Regions from separate parts of the Homo sapiens genome. Here region 2 is linked to region 1. The links are contacts of gene promoters, found by promoter capture Hi-C in blood cells and fetal thymus (Javierre and others, 2016). All regions are on one chromosome and are shown on one strand. The core of a region is centred on a gene start or on the middle of the fragment in contact, and the rest is flanking DNA. Distances in the headings are between cores, read along the strand shown. Region 1 holds the start of FTX (FTX transcript, XIST regulator). Region 2 overlaps HMGN5 (high mobility group nucleosome binding domain 5).

The links. Contacts are between HindIII fragments. The CHiCAGO score rates a contact against its expected background, and 5 or more counts as called.
Region 2: a fragment that was not itself captured here is called in contact with the fragment with the promoter of FTX in region 1 in 1 of 17 cell types (fetal thymus); the score reaches 10.9 in fetal thymus.

Annotation. Positions count from the first base shown.
Region 1 is chrX:74,289,951-74,296,633 of GRCh38, reverse strand. FTX (FTX transcript, XIST regulator) reads left to right here and starts at 3,060. Exons shown (of 7, transcript NR_028379.1): 1 at 3,060-3,282. LOC124905199 (a long non-coding RNA gene) reads left to right here and starts at 4,038. Exons shown (of 2, transcript XR_007068266.1): 1 at 4,038-4,876; 2 at 6,204-6,683. RefSeq lists enhancers at 3,806-4,596, 5,388-6,179. The HindIII fragment of the contact is 8,135 bases long and covers 1-3,965 here.
Region 2 is chrX:81,118,655-81,125,337 of GRCh38, reverse strand. HMGN5 (high mobility group nucleosome binding domain 5) reads left to right here. Exons shown (of 7, transcript NM_030763.3): 2 at 3,666-3,803; 3 at 5,521-5,550; 4 at 6,579-6,608. The coding sequence starts at 3,789. Among named protein-coding and RNA genes, the nearest start is that of HMGN5, 80 kb to the left of the region's middle. RefSeq lists an enhancer at 3,157-3,386. The HindIII fragment of the contact is 1,066 bases long and covers 2,834-3,899 here.

The sequences.
Region 1 (6,683 bases), core at 1,811-4,310:
CAAGCTCCTTGCCTGAGATGAAGGTAGAAGTAGAAGTTCCTTGGAAGAAACAGAACTAAATCTGTTTGCTGATGAATATTCATCTGTGCATGGTAAAAACACAGCCTCAAACACAAATATAGTGTCATAAAAAATGTTAACGTTAGGCCAGGTGCAAGGGCTCCCACCTGTAATCCCAGCATTTTGGGAGGCCGAGGCGGGCGGATCACGAGGTCAGGAGTTCGAGACCAGCCTGACGAACATGGTGAAACCCCATCTCTACTAAGAATACAAAAATTAGCCGGGCGTGGTGGCGGGCGCCTGTAATCCCAGCTACTCAGGAGGCTAAGACAGGAGAATCGCTTGAACCTGGGAGGCAGAGATTGCAGTGAGCCGAGATCGTGCCATTGCACTCCAGCCTGGGCCACAGAGCAAGACTGTCTCAAAAAAAAAAAAAAGTTAATGTTAAAACATTATATATACATTTTTTCTTTTTCTTTCTTTCCTTTTTTTTTTTTTTTGAGATGGAGTTTCACTCTATCACCCAGGCTGGAGGGCAGTGGCATGATCTCGGCTTACTATAACCTCTGCCTCCCAGGTTCAAGCGAGTCAGCTGCCTCAGCCTCCCGAGTAGCTGGGATTACAGGTGCCCGCCACCACGCCCAGCTAATTTTTGCATGTTTAGTAGAGACGGGGTTTCACCATGTTGGCCAGGCTGGTCTTGAACTCCTGACCTTAACTGATCTGCCTGCCTTGGCTTCCCAAAGTACTGGGATTACAGGTGCGAGCCACTGTGCTTGGCCCCCACCTCTTTTTTTTTTTTTTTTTAAATAGAGACAGGGTATTGCTATGTTGCCAAGGCTGGTTTCGAACTTGTGGTCTCAGGCAATCTTCCTGCATTGGCCTCCCAAAGTGCTGGGATTACAGGCATGAGCCACCACGCCCAGCCAAAACATTATATATTTGAACAAAAATCATAAGAGAACACAAAGATGCTTGCTATGGTTTGAATATGTCTCTCAAAGTTCATATGTTGGAAATTTGATGCCCCATGTGGTGGTGTTGGGAGGTGAGGCTTAAAGGGAGGTGTTTGAGTCATGGGGGCACCACTCTTATGAATAGCTTAATGCTATTATTGAGGGAGTGGGTTTGTTATTTCAGTAGTGGGTTCCTTATTAAAGGATGAGTTCTGGCCCCCTCTTGCGCGCACTCTCTCTTTCTCTATCTCTTTGCCCTTCCACCATGGGATGATGTAGCAGGAAAGCCACTGTCAGATGCCAGCTCCTCAGTCTTGGACTTCCCATTCTCCAGAACTGTGAGGAAATAAATTTCTGTTCTTTATAAATTGCCGAGTCTGCAGTATTTTGTTACAGTGGTACATAATGGACTAAGACAATACTAATGGGTATGAAGTTTCTTTTTGGGGTGATGAAAATATTCTAAAATTGATTGTAGTGGTGGCTGCATAATTCTGTGAATATACTAAAATCCATTGCATTGTACACTTTAAGTTGGTTAACTGTATGATATGTAAATTATATATTAATAAAACCATTAAAACAGAAAAATAACAGAGATAAGAGCATTTGTTAAAATAGTGTTGTAGAATTTGGGGTAAAATTTCTTATATTTTAACTTTTGTGTAATAATAAATGATTATTTTAATTTAGAAGAGGTTCTTTGTACCACTGAGATTTCGGCATTTCTTTTTTATTTAATGCATGCCTATTTCTCTTTTTTCTTCTTCATATGCACATTGTTGTATAATTTTTTGGGCGTATTATATAACAAATGCAAACCCATTTTTCTCTGAATAATGTTGATATAACATTCTTAAGTTAATTTGAGAGGATGGTGATGTATAAGTTTATGAGTTTTAGGATTTATGAATTTGCGGGTCTCAGTTTTTGGTATTTCCAAACTGGCTCTTTTAGAAAGCAATAAGAACCAGACACCAAAGTAAAACATAATAAAGAGAAACAAAATATTATTTTGTATTCTTTCTAGTTCACACCCAAAGAGGGATCTATTTCAGAGCCTCTTAAGTAAATAATGCCATTTCCCTCAAAATTAATATTTGAGTTCTTACAGAAGACAAGAACAGGCCTTGTAGTAAGCAGTGAAGGACATTGAATCTCATTTTTAATGTCCAGACAATACCAGGGTTGTGAATAGAAAGAAAAGAGCTTTCCATGTTGGTGGTCTACTGCCTCTTACCCCCAAATTGATTGAACACTTTTGCAGTTTTTGTTCTGGTTCCCTGTCTCTGGATCTTCCCTGTGGGTCATCATCAAAAAGGTGTTCTCTTTGCCCAAGACAGGCTGGTTGAGCTCACCCTGAGAGCTGCTTTGGAGAGGATGTGTGGAAATATTTTTTTTCTTTTTTTGAGATGGGGTCTCACTCTGTTGCCCAGGCTGGCAACATCATAGCTGGCACAATCATAGCTCACTGTAGCCTCGACTTCCTGGGCTCGAGTGATTCTTCCACCTCAGCCTTCTGAATAGCTGGGAGTACAGGTGCGCACCACCACGCCCGGCTAATTTTTGTATTTATTTGTAGAGACGGGGTTTCGCCATGTCACCCGAGCTGGTCTCGAACTCCTGAACTCAAGGGTTCCGTCCACCTCGGCCTCCCAAAGTGCTGGGATTACAGGTGTGAGCCACCGCGCCCGGGCTACAATTATTTAAAAAAAAATTTTTGCGGTAATTTTTACAAATTTCAACATCAGGCATAGGAGGAGAGGAGTAAGAGGCCCAAGAGGGCTGCAGACTGGCAGGGAAAGTGAAGAATTGAAGGGTAGACCACTAACGATAGCAGAGGAAATAAAGGTAGATGGTGGGCTAAGAATAATGGGAGAGGGATTGACGAAAGAAGTATGGGCTGAGGGAGGGATGATGGTGGAGGCCAGTGTGACCGAGGGGAGGGGAAAGGTGGAAGAAGCAGAGTGGGATAGCGTCCTGGGAAAGAAGTGAAGGAGGTCGGTGGACCGCTAAGGGTTAGACTCCTAGAGGCTGGAGAGCGGCGCGTGGGGGAGGCGGGGCGCGGAGGGGGGGTTAAGGGGCGTTAGCAGCGCATGCGCTGGAAGCACACTGCGGCGATTCTGGAGAGGTTGTCCTTTTCTGGCATCAGCGTTGCGGCTCGAGGCAAAGCTGGTCCTGTGCCTGCTGTCCATTGCCGCTAAGGCCTGCTGCTGCCATTCAGGCGTGTCTCTCTCTCTCTCTCTCTTTCATGCCGCTCTCTCCACCCCATCTTGGGACGGCCAGCTCTAAGAATTCCTGCTACGACACTGAATTCAACCAGGAGGTAAAGGAACGATGTAGGGGAAGAACAGAACATGGAGGGCGGCGGAGGGAACTTGGGCCAGGAAGATCCTTAATTTGTGCATTTTTCCAGTTCACGGGAGGAAAAAATGGAATACGTTACAGGCCCCAGTTTTCCAAAAGGATGTTGAGCATTTGCTTCCCATTGTGAAAGGAATGCGGGTTCCTTTCCTCTAACTAGAGTCAAGGCACCTGAGCATCGGTGTTTTCCATAATGTTCCCTGTTTAAAACATTTGTGGTTCGTCATTTGTAGCAGATGTATTTAAAGGGCGAGGCCTTAGGATTATGTTCATCCGATGGTTTGTGAAAGTTTTCCTTGCCTTTGTTCAGGTTGACCGGTCTTATGTGAATCCTGGGGTACTCTAGCCCCCTCCCTTGGAGTTGGGACCGATTCCATCTAGATCTGGGATTCACTCTGATCACCTGCAACGCCTTCTTTCCCCGATTCAACTTCCCTAGTTTATCGCATCTACTCGCATTAGGGAAGGCTGGTAATGGCTCTCCTTGGGCACTGGGGCAGAATTGTGGCGAGAAACACGTCCAGATAGCATCAGGCATGCATACTGTATACAAATGGGAGCAAGAAGAGAGAGGACTATCGCGGTGCGCAGGGTATTTGAGAGGCTGGATGAGGAGGCGCGGCGCCGAGGGGCGGCGCTCAAGCTTACAGTATTTGAGAAGACCTGAGTTAAGGGGACGGGCTCCAGTGGGGCGGGGGTGGGGAGAGGGAGGCACGCATGCGCAAGGCTTGAATGGCGTCGGGGTTGGAGGGTTGGAAGGTCGGGAAGTGAAGGACTCGCAGGCATATTTAACAACGCAAAGTTGCTAGGAGTTGGTACCAGCGTTTGGGAGGTAGAGGTGGCGCTCATGCATATTTGAGACAACATCTGGATGGTTGGGGAGAACGGTAAGGAGGAAGCGGCGCGCATGCGTATTTCAGACGGAGTGCCGGGGAGGGGAGGCGCTCAGCATTCGGGTAATTAAGGTTGCAAAATGGCGAGGGGGGAGGTAAGCTGTCTTTGCTTGGCCATCTTGGGCTAGCAGGCCTTGCAGAGAACTACCTTTTTAGCTGAGTGAAGGGATCAACCTGAGTTGGAGTTCTCCTATGCTGTGGCCAGATCCACTAGAAATTAACCCAGAATCTTAGCCTCTCAGTGGCCTATCGGTAAGTGGGTACAAAAATGAGGAGGCGATGATGACTCTGCAAAAGGTTGCGGCAGCTGGCGGTGCGTAGGAAATGCGTAAAAAGGGAGCACTTGGAGACAGGCCACATTTGGGCAGTACGCATTCGGAGGGCTCTCTGGCTTTCCGATCTTGGGTCGCTGTACTTGGCTCTGAATACAGTCACCCCATCAGAGTAGCAAAACACTGTGGTTGTAGTGTGAGAATCCAATGTTAATGTTGGCCGAAAGCTCTTGATTTTCTTCCCTGAGAACATAGGCGTGAGGATTTGGATGTGTTTCCAAATGCTTGTTACTCTTTGCCGTAAACCTGGAATTTGGACCTATGGCTGCCTGGGACTCATACTGTCGTGGAGAAAGATTGAAAAGTAGTTAATGGCAGTGGTGGTATGAAGGTAACCTGGGCTTTCACCCTTTCCTTTATTTTTTCTTCTGTAGAACTTTCAGCACGGTTTTGTCAAGGGAGAAGATTAGAGTTTCTATTTTAAAGGCAGATGTACTGTCATGACTCTCTGAAGACTTGCTGTTAATCGCTAAAACTAGTAAGTTAGCACTTAGATACAGACATAGTTAGAAGGAGCACAGGATTAAAAACTGAAAAAAACATCTTTTCCCAGTAATCCTAGCTATTATTTCATGGTGGTCCTTTTCCTTCTCTGGGCCTATTTCTCTCTCTCGCTCATTTATTTATTTACTTTTAGACAGAGTCTTGCTCCGTCGCCCAGGCTGGAGTGCGGTGGCGCGATCTCAATTCACTACAACCTCCGCCTCCCGGGTTCAAGCGATTCTGATATCTCAGCCTCCCAAGTAGTAGCTGGGGTTACAGGTGCGCGCACGCCCGGCTAATTTTTGTGTTTTTAGTAGAGACGGGGTTTTGCCATGTTGGCCAGGCTGGTCTCGAACTCCCGGCCTCATGTGATCCGCCCGCCTTGGCCTCCCAAAGTGCTGGGATTACAAGCGTGAGCCACCACGCCCGGCTGCTGGGCCTATTTCTCTATCTGTAATAATGATTAAACGTCAATAGCACTTACTACGTTCGAGGTTCTGGTCTGCGTGCTTTTACATAGGCCGTAACTCATTTGGTACTCTCGACAATCTTACGAAACACAGTACTGTTATTAAGTTTATACAAATGAGAAATTTGAGGGACACGAGACTAATTTGTTCAAGGCTTTACAGCCAGTTGAATGGCTGAGACTGGGTTTTTATCCAGGTGGGATGGCTCCAGAAGCATGTGCTTTTAAGCATTATGCTTTATTCCCTAAAAAGAGGGGGCGAATTTAAAGGAACCTTCTTTTATGATTTCAAAATTTGTTTGTAACTAACCAAAACCATTTGAGAAAGAAGACCTGTTTTCTGTTTCTGACTGTGCAGACTACAGGGTTACATACCTAGGAGACAAAAGATAAAGAATTGTTGATTTGGTGCCTAGTGGGGTGGCTATCCTTAACTACCCTTGTTTTCTGTGCTTTTTGTTCTGCAGAGGGTCTAAAATGGCCGACTGCGGCAGGCTGGACACACCCTTCTTGTTTTGCCTGATTTTCTGTCTGATCTAATGCTTTGAGACATCTAACCAGTCATTTACTGCAGTAGTTTTTTTTTTAACCCATTATTAGTATTTCGTGTTGATCTAAATATACAATAGTGATGGAAAGGTTATTGTCTTTTTTCTTGTAATAAAAGACTGAAAATACATTTGTTTTATTTTTATTATTTGCTTAGGATACATTCGTGGAAGTGGAGTTAGTACATCAAAGGGTATGAACATTTTAAACTCTCAGTATCTATTGCCAAATTTCTTCCTAAAAAGGTTGTATCAATTTTTACTCATACAAGCGCTGAATGTTGTTGTTTTTTAATTTTTAATGGATAAAAACCAGTATTAATTTTTCGTTTGCCTATTAGTTTGGATTTTCTTCCTCCATATATATCTCAGCAGTTTTCTTTCATGTAATGATAGTTCATATCTTATGTTGATTTATGCGTTGAAGTTTTAGTTTACTGTTTATTATTATCTGTTTGTGTTCTGTAAATAAAGATTAGTATTCAGACTTTTGTAATGTTATAAATACCTACTCCATGTTATTGTTTGCCTCTTAATTTTTGTCTTTAAATTTTTGGCTAGTAGAGATTTGAAATTATTTGACAAATTTATCTTCTATTTTGTGATTTTTATTCTATTGTTTAAATTTGAATAGCTCC
Region 2 (6,683 bases), core at 2,117-4,616, 6.8 Mb before region 1:
TCTAAAACACTGTATTCTAATAATATGATAGAATTCTTGCATTATTTGCTGACAATAGTATATAGTTTTCCAATTTTTTATTTTATTAAAATACAACAGGAATAATAATGGTGTTGCATGAGGTCAAAATTAGAGATATTTTAACAGAGAAAATAAAGTATTTCTTACTAGTCAATCAGTATTTTTGAGATCCCATTGCATGCAAAGTAGTGTATCTAGAATGCTTTTAATTAATCATATATATATATAATTTTAAACTATGAATATACAGAACATTTGAAGACCTGTTTTATCTTGGCTGTTTAGCATTCCTTTTCTCATAAATACATAATATTTTCTTTTGGATTCTCTGTCAATATATCTTAATGTTGGTGCCTTTAATCCATAAATTTTCATATCTTCCTGTGTCATTTTTAACTGGTTACTAAATGGACACGTTACAGTTCCTGTAAATTTTGGGAGTGGTAGTAGGCATGCTTAATAGCCAGGTAAAATTAGGGAATTCTGTGGAGAATTGTCAGGCAATCAATTTTCCTAGTCATTAATAAATTAAAAAGAGAAACAAGCCAACGTAATCTTAGAAAAAAATAGTCCAGTAAAAAGTCTCACTTTGACAATTACACAAAAATAACCTTTTTACTCTGGAATAATTTATCAATTTTAGAAAAATATATTGGAAAAGTAGTAAATTCTACAGAAGGTATGTAGAGTGTGATGTGCTGAGTAAATATTTAGGCAAAAGGAAATAAGTATATACAAGTTTGACCCAATTTGAAGAAGTTTGATGGAGTGGTTGGGAAAAAAAGGAAAAATCAAGCTTGCTTGTGTCCTATGAGTAGTACAATCTAAATTGTATAGTATAACAGCAGGGAAGAATTTCTTAGGGCTAAAATAATTGAAGAAGGCTTTTGTCAAAGAGGTGATATTTGGATTGGGTCTAAACAGTTTGGTAAACATTTGATAGGTGAAGATATTTGAGAATGGGGCTGCAGTCAGAGGTAATAATACTGCAAAGGCAAAGAGCCTAAACAGGTTTGCTAATGTAAAGGACCGCTCTGGTTAATGGTTAGAAGGAAGAACATGAGGAAATGGGGGATTGGGGTCAAGAAACAGAAGAATGTTTCACACTTAGAAAATGTTCTTTTGCATGCATGACTATTTTTTCAATTTAATAAGATATAAATCACAGTTGCAACACGTTAGCCTTCAAGAAGAAAAAACTGGCCAAAAAAGAAAATTGCTGACAAATTTAAGAGGAGTTTTAGAGCTCACTGACCTGCACATTATGCTTTGCTTCTCTAAGCTTTACCTTCCAAGGCTCCTCAAGATAATTTGTTTCAATCCACTTGGACTAGGCACTATGTTCCCTGAACAAGTACAACCTTTTCCTGCCGCTGCATTTGCTGTAATGTAACAGTCTACCGAACTGTTCACAGGCAAGCCAAATTCCACTTCCTCAATCAAACCCTTTGCCAAGTTACCTTAGTCCTAAAAGATCCTTCCCTCCTGTTTTATTATTGAATTTAGATTGCACCATTCAGATAATACAATCAGCTTTGATTTGTAAATAGGTATGCATCTGTTTGCTCAATCCTACAAAATTATAAAATTCCTTAAAGACAGAAGCTGTGTAATGCAACTTTGCATGCTACAGGGTTTCGCATTTTCATAAGCTAGTCTACAAAAACAAAATCCGACTCACAAAATAATGCTAAATAAGAATTTGTTGAATGGATGCATTCCACTGCTGACACATTTTCATTCCCTTCATTTTTCTTCTTATCCTTATGAGGCAATCCTTATATTAAAATCAATTTTTATGCTTATCTTCTAACTGTTGGAGAATAAAATGATTGAAACATATTTAAGTTCACCCAGGAATGCTTTTACCATAAGGGCAAAAAGTGACATCAGGAACATCTAGGGATTATCCCAATAACTGTGGACGAAGGAAGCAATTTAAATATCTTTCTGATTTACTTACTTGAATTAGAATGCAGTATGAAGTTGGGGGAAGGAAACTGAGCAGCAGTCACGCAGGCTCATTCTACCTGATCTATGTAATTCCATACTATCAGTGCTGGGGAAGAATGGGCAATAATAATAATAATAATGATATAAATATATAACAAAATAAAAATAATATAGCAATAGTAAATATAATAATTACAATGGGTTATTCTGTTAGGCTGTATTTTTGCTTGAAGGGATGGTTTGGCACTCTGTAGCAGATACAGTGTTTATCTCTTAAACTGATTATTCCAAATTTTTTAACCTACATAAACACAAATGAATTCTTCCTAAAGTAACTGTTCAAAAGGTTAAATTTCTTTTTTGATTAACCCTCCAGGATAAGGATTTGGGTTGTTGTTTGGGAGCACTTTTATACACAGGTAGCTCTTACAACAACCACATCAAGGCGCCTCTGAGAAAGGGCGGTGGGGAATTAGATCCTCTATTTTAATCATATTTATTCCCAAGTAATTTATTCATCAATCTCCACCTCAACCCTGAAAACTTTAGGTCTCAGAAACTGACACTGAAAGGCACCTATAAGCCTCTCTTACAGTCGAAAGTCACCTAAATATGGCTGGGACTAGAGTGACGCTATGGAGACATTCTCCTTTGGCAAAAATTTTAAAGGGCCGCCTAGAAACTCAGTAATGAAGATACTTAATATTTTTAGACAATCTTTTTAAATATCAAAATTCTTGCAAAAAAGTCCATGATGAACAAAATATCAAAAATTTAAATAAAGACAGGATCATACCCTGCACTTGCGTGACTCACCTCACTCGCCTCATCCTAGTCTCCTGGGTTTTTGTCACAAGCTTAAATTTTGTGCCTGAGGCGAGTACCTCAATGGCTTTATGCTAGTCTAGGTTCTGAGTCCTAAACACTTTCGTGGATAGCACCTTCTTGAGTCCTTTCACTAAATGCAACCTTCAGATTAAAAATCTATTCTCAGTGTTTTTCATTTGGATAGACCTCTGCTATTACACATTTCCCTCGGAGTCCCGCTGAATTCTTCGTATACCTCCTCCAAGTGGGATAACGGTATAGCTCCCGGTTTTGTCGCTACTCTACACCTGCGGAAAACACGCCATTTTGGCACCCTCCTCTTGCCAGCACCACAGTTCTGCTTTGGCAGGATGTTCCCACACCAGAGAAACATCTCCACTCTTTTGCGCTTTCTGAATGAATGTTCTTGTCGGTTCAACACCATCCCGCCAAAGGTGGCAGGGAAAGACCGGAGCCCAGACTCAACTGGTCTTAAAAGCACTTATCCCGCTAGGAATAGGGAAGGGTGGCGGGTTTGGAGGCTGTGAAGAAAGCAACTGTTGTGGCTTTCGCCTGTCATTATAACATAAAAGAAAAAAAAACTGATCAAGTCAGCTCTGGCTTTCCTGCTGTTCTTATTCCTGATCGCTTAGCCCTTGCTAAGTTCGCGTGCTCCGCCACTACACCAGCGGTTAGAGCCGACAGGGAACGAGGGCTTCGGGCAAGTTCGCGGGCCACGCCCCTCAAAGCCGGCTGCCTCTTCTTATTGGCCTGAGAGCCTGTCACTCCAATGTGGCTCCCACTCCGGTTAACCATTCACGTAGTTTGGTTGCGTCTTGGCGTGTTTAATGTTGCCAATAACGAGGGATTTTTTTTTTTTCCAGAGGAGAGTACAGGTCGTGCTGCAGTTAGTTCATTGAAAACTCATTTGCTCTTGGAGCAGTCAGGCAGTGACTGCCTTCGGCTTTTTTTCTGCTGACTAAGATCTCCTATAGAGAGCTACAACAATGCCCAAAAGAAAGGTAAGTGAAATGGAAAGACAGACGGGGAATGAGCTGCTGAGTTACCTATTTCCTAATAGGAAGAATTTATTTGTTTGTTTGGTTTTTTTTAAAGCTTTTTGGCTTCTTCCATTTTGTGATGTAATGAAACGGAAAGGGGTAGAAGGGCAAAGAGCAGTCGGTGTAAGGTTTAGGATGGTCTTGCATGCAACTGGTAGTTCACTTTTGGAGTGTTCTGTTTAAGGAGAGAATCTCTTGAAAGGTGTCTCCATGCTGAATTACAAACAGCCATAGCGCTGGGCTGTCGCTTCCTACCCCAACCCCCTTCCTCCGCTTACCCTATTGGAGAACACTTCTCCCAACCATACTTCAGTTTCCTCCTCTGCCACCGGCTTTTCTCGGGGAACCGTCCCGTCTGGGGAACGAAAGCCATGGCTTTCTCCTGTATTTGCCTTTGTTCTTCCCGTTTTCTTTTTTCTTTTTTTTTTTTCCTTCCCTCCTCCTCCACTTCTTGTCAGGCCAGATGGCTATGCAATGGTAATCCTGTGCCATTAGGCGGCGCAGACTTCAAACTGTCCTAGAGAACAGAGATTCACCGCTGTAATTAGAAACTTTAGGGGTGAGAAAGCTGGACCTTTCCAAGCTCTTTAGCTAAAGATGGGAAGATTATAAGGAGACAGCGTCGGATAAACTTGCTGATGTTGGGGTAGCATGGATTTGTTCACTTTAGTAGTGCAGAATTGATCTGAGCCTTTCGAGCTCCACAGGTCTTCTGCAAACCCTCACTTCACAATTCCTGGCTCCTCGCAGACAGGAAACAAGTTCACGCTCGGCGTTTTTTTCTTAGTCCCCTAGAAGTGAAATCGAACGCTGTTTCATTGCTTGGTAAAACCGTATAACACTATGCTAAGACATTATGATTGTTTTTGGATTATTCCTATAAACAACTCCGCCTTCCTTATTCCTAAAACATAGGAATAATACTGAAATTCCCCCGTGCTCTGTGGCTGTCTGAATCGTGCAATAGCTTGATAATTCTCAGGCTAAAGGGCTGCTCAGATATGGAAAACAACTGTTTCTAATCACCATCCCCCCTTCCTGAGATTCCCGCCACTGTGCTTTTCTATACTTGTGCAGTAGGTCTTGCTGTTTTCCAGAGCTGACAGCAACCTTAAAGCAGGTAGTGGCGGGAAGTTTTAAAATCGGCGGCCAGTTTCTTAGAATAAAGCATTGACTTTGTAACAAAGAGGTCTCCCCAAGAAAACACTGTGGGGGCTGTAATTCTTGCATGCAAAACTTGGAGAAAATAGTCCAGAATCAGTGGAGAGGATAAGATAGGTACAATTGCATGGCAAACATAAGGCAAGAAAGCGAAATTGCATGAAGCTCCGCCTTCATTTGACCCACCCCCACATTTTTGGCTTTTACATTATCTAAAGCAGGTGGATTTCAAAATTACAAAGGTTTGCTTTTAGGAGATGCAATTTACACAAAAGGATGAAATTAACTATCAATTGTGTAAAAGTATGTCTTGTGCATGCACTTGCATCTTGGTGCACATTAGTAAAACAGCAGTATGTAGCATGGTTCCTAAGAAACAACACGTGTCTACTTGAGCAGGAACCCAGGAGAAAGTAATAAGCAATTATATTGAAATTTGTAATCCGCAGGCAGTATTTTCTGATTTATGTGTTTATATCAATGACCTTATTTCTGTGTGGTTTTCTCCTCTGTGTAGGCTGCAGGTCAAGGTGATATGAGGCAGGAGGTGAGTTTCTTTAGTCTTAGCATCTATTAGGAAAAACCACTCGTTTTATAAACTTGACATAAGCAGCTAAAAAATAGATGCTGGTTGGTATATTTGTACAATATGAGTTCCAATATGGTATACCAGTGGGATCTCTCAAAAATATATATCCGAATTTCAGAAGAGAGGACTTTTTAAAATTGCCATTCAGAATAAAAGAAAAGGCTTTTTCACTTTTTTTTATAGAAATGATGGTACGGAAATATTCTTGACAATAGAGATGTGCTAATATTTTATTTGGGTGTTTTGTGGGTTAGACTATGATTTGGTGTGTGTACTTTACAGGCTTACATGTTGCTTACTTTAGAAAGTTGAGGCTCTAAATGACTGTTCACATATGTGAAACATTTCTTAAAGTACTATATAGTTTTTGTTATTGCATTAAATATATATTGTTCTAACTCCTAGAGTATGCCATCTTCTATATGTCCTACAAAGCGAGAATCATTGTTGTGCGACAATTATATTAAAGAAACCTCTCAGTTTACCTTTATGGCCTTGTTAATCTAATATTTTGGTCAATGCATATTATTAATTTTAATCTAATTAATGCACAATAAAAATATACTGAGTGTGAAAAAAATGTATATATAGTAAGTATTAAAAACTGCAAGCTTCTTCGAATTTAAGACCTTATTGTGCTTGTTCAGATGTGGAGAGAACTTCTTCCTTTTAAGCAAAATAATTGCTTTGTCATTTGGCAAGAAAAGGCTATATTTTCATTTCTAAATGTGCTCCTTGTTACTAGCTACTGTGTTAATTTAGCCTAGCTGCTTAAGCTTAATTTGGGACTTTTTCCTTAGTATGTAAAGTGTTCAGAGGACGGAAAAATCAAAACTTATATTTCTCTTGTATTTTCTAACCAAATTCACAATTACTTAATGACAATATTTATGTATTGTTACACCAAATATTTTGACCTCAATAAAAATAATTCTAGCTTTTTGTATCCATAATTCTCTTAACAGATTTTTGTTTTTAACTTATAGCCAAAGAGAAGATCTGCCAGGTTGTCTGCTGTAAGTAATCTTTTCAAAAAGCAGCCCATGTATTGTGAAACGTCATTTTAAAATTTAGGGAATCCTAAAATATTC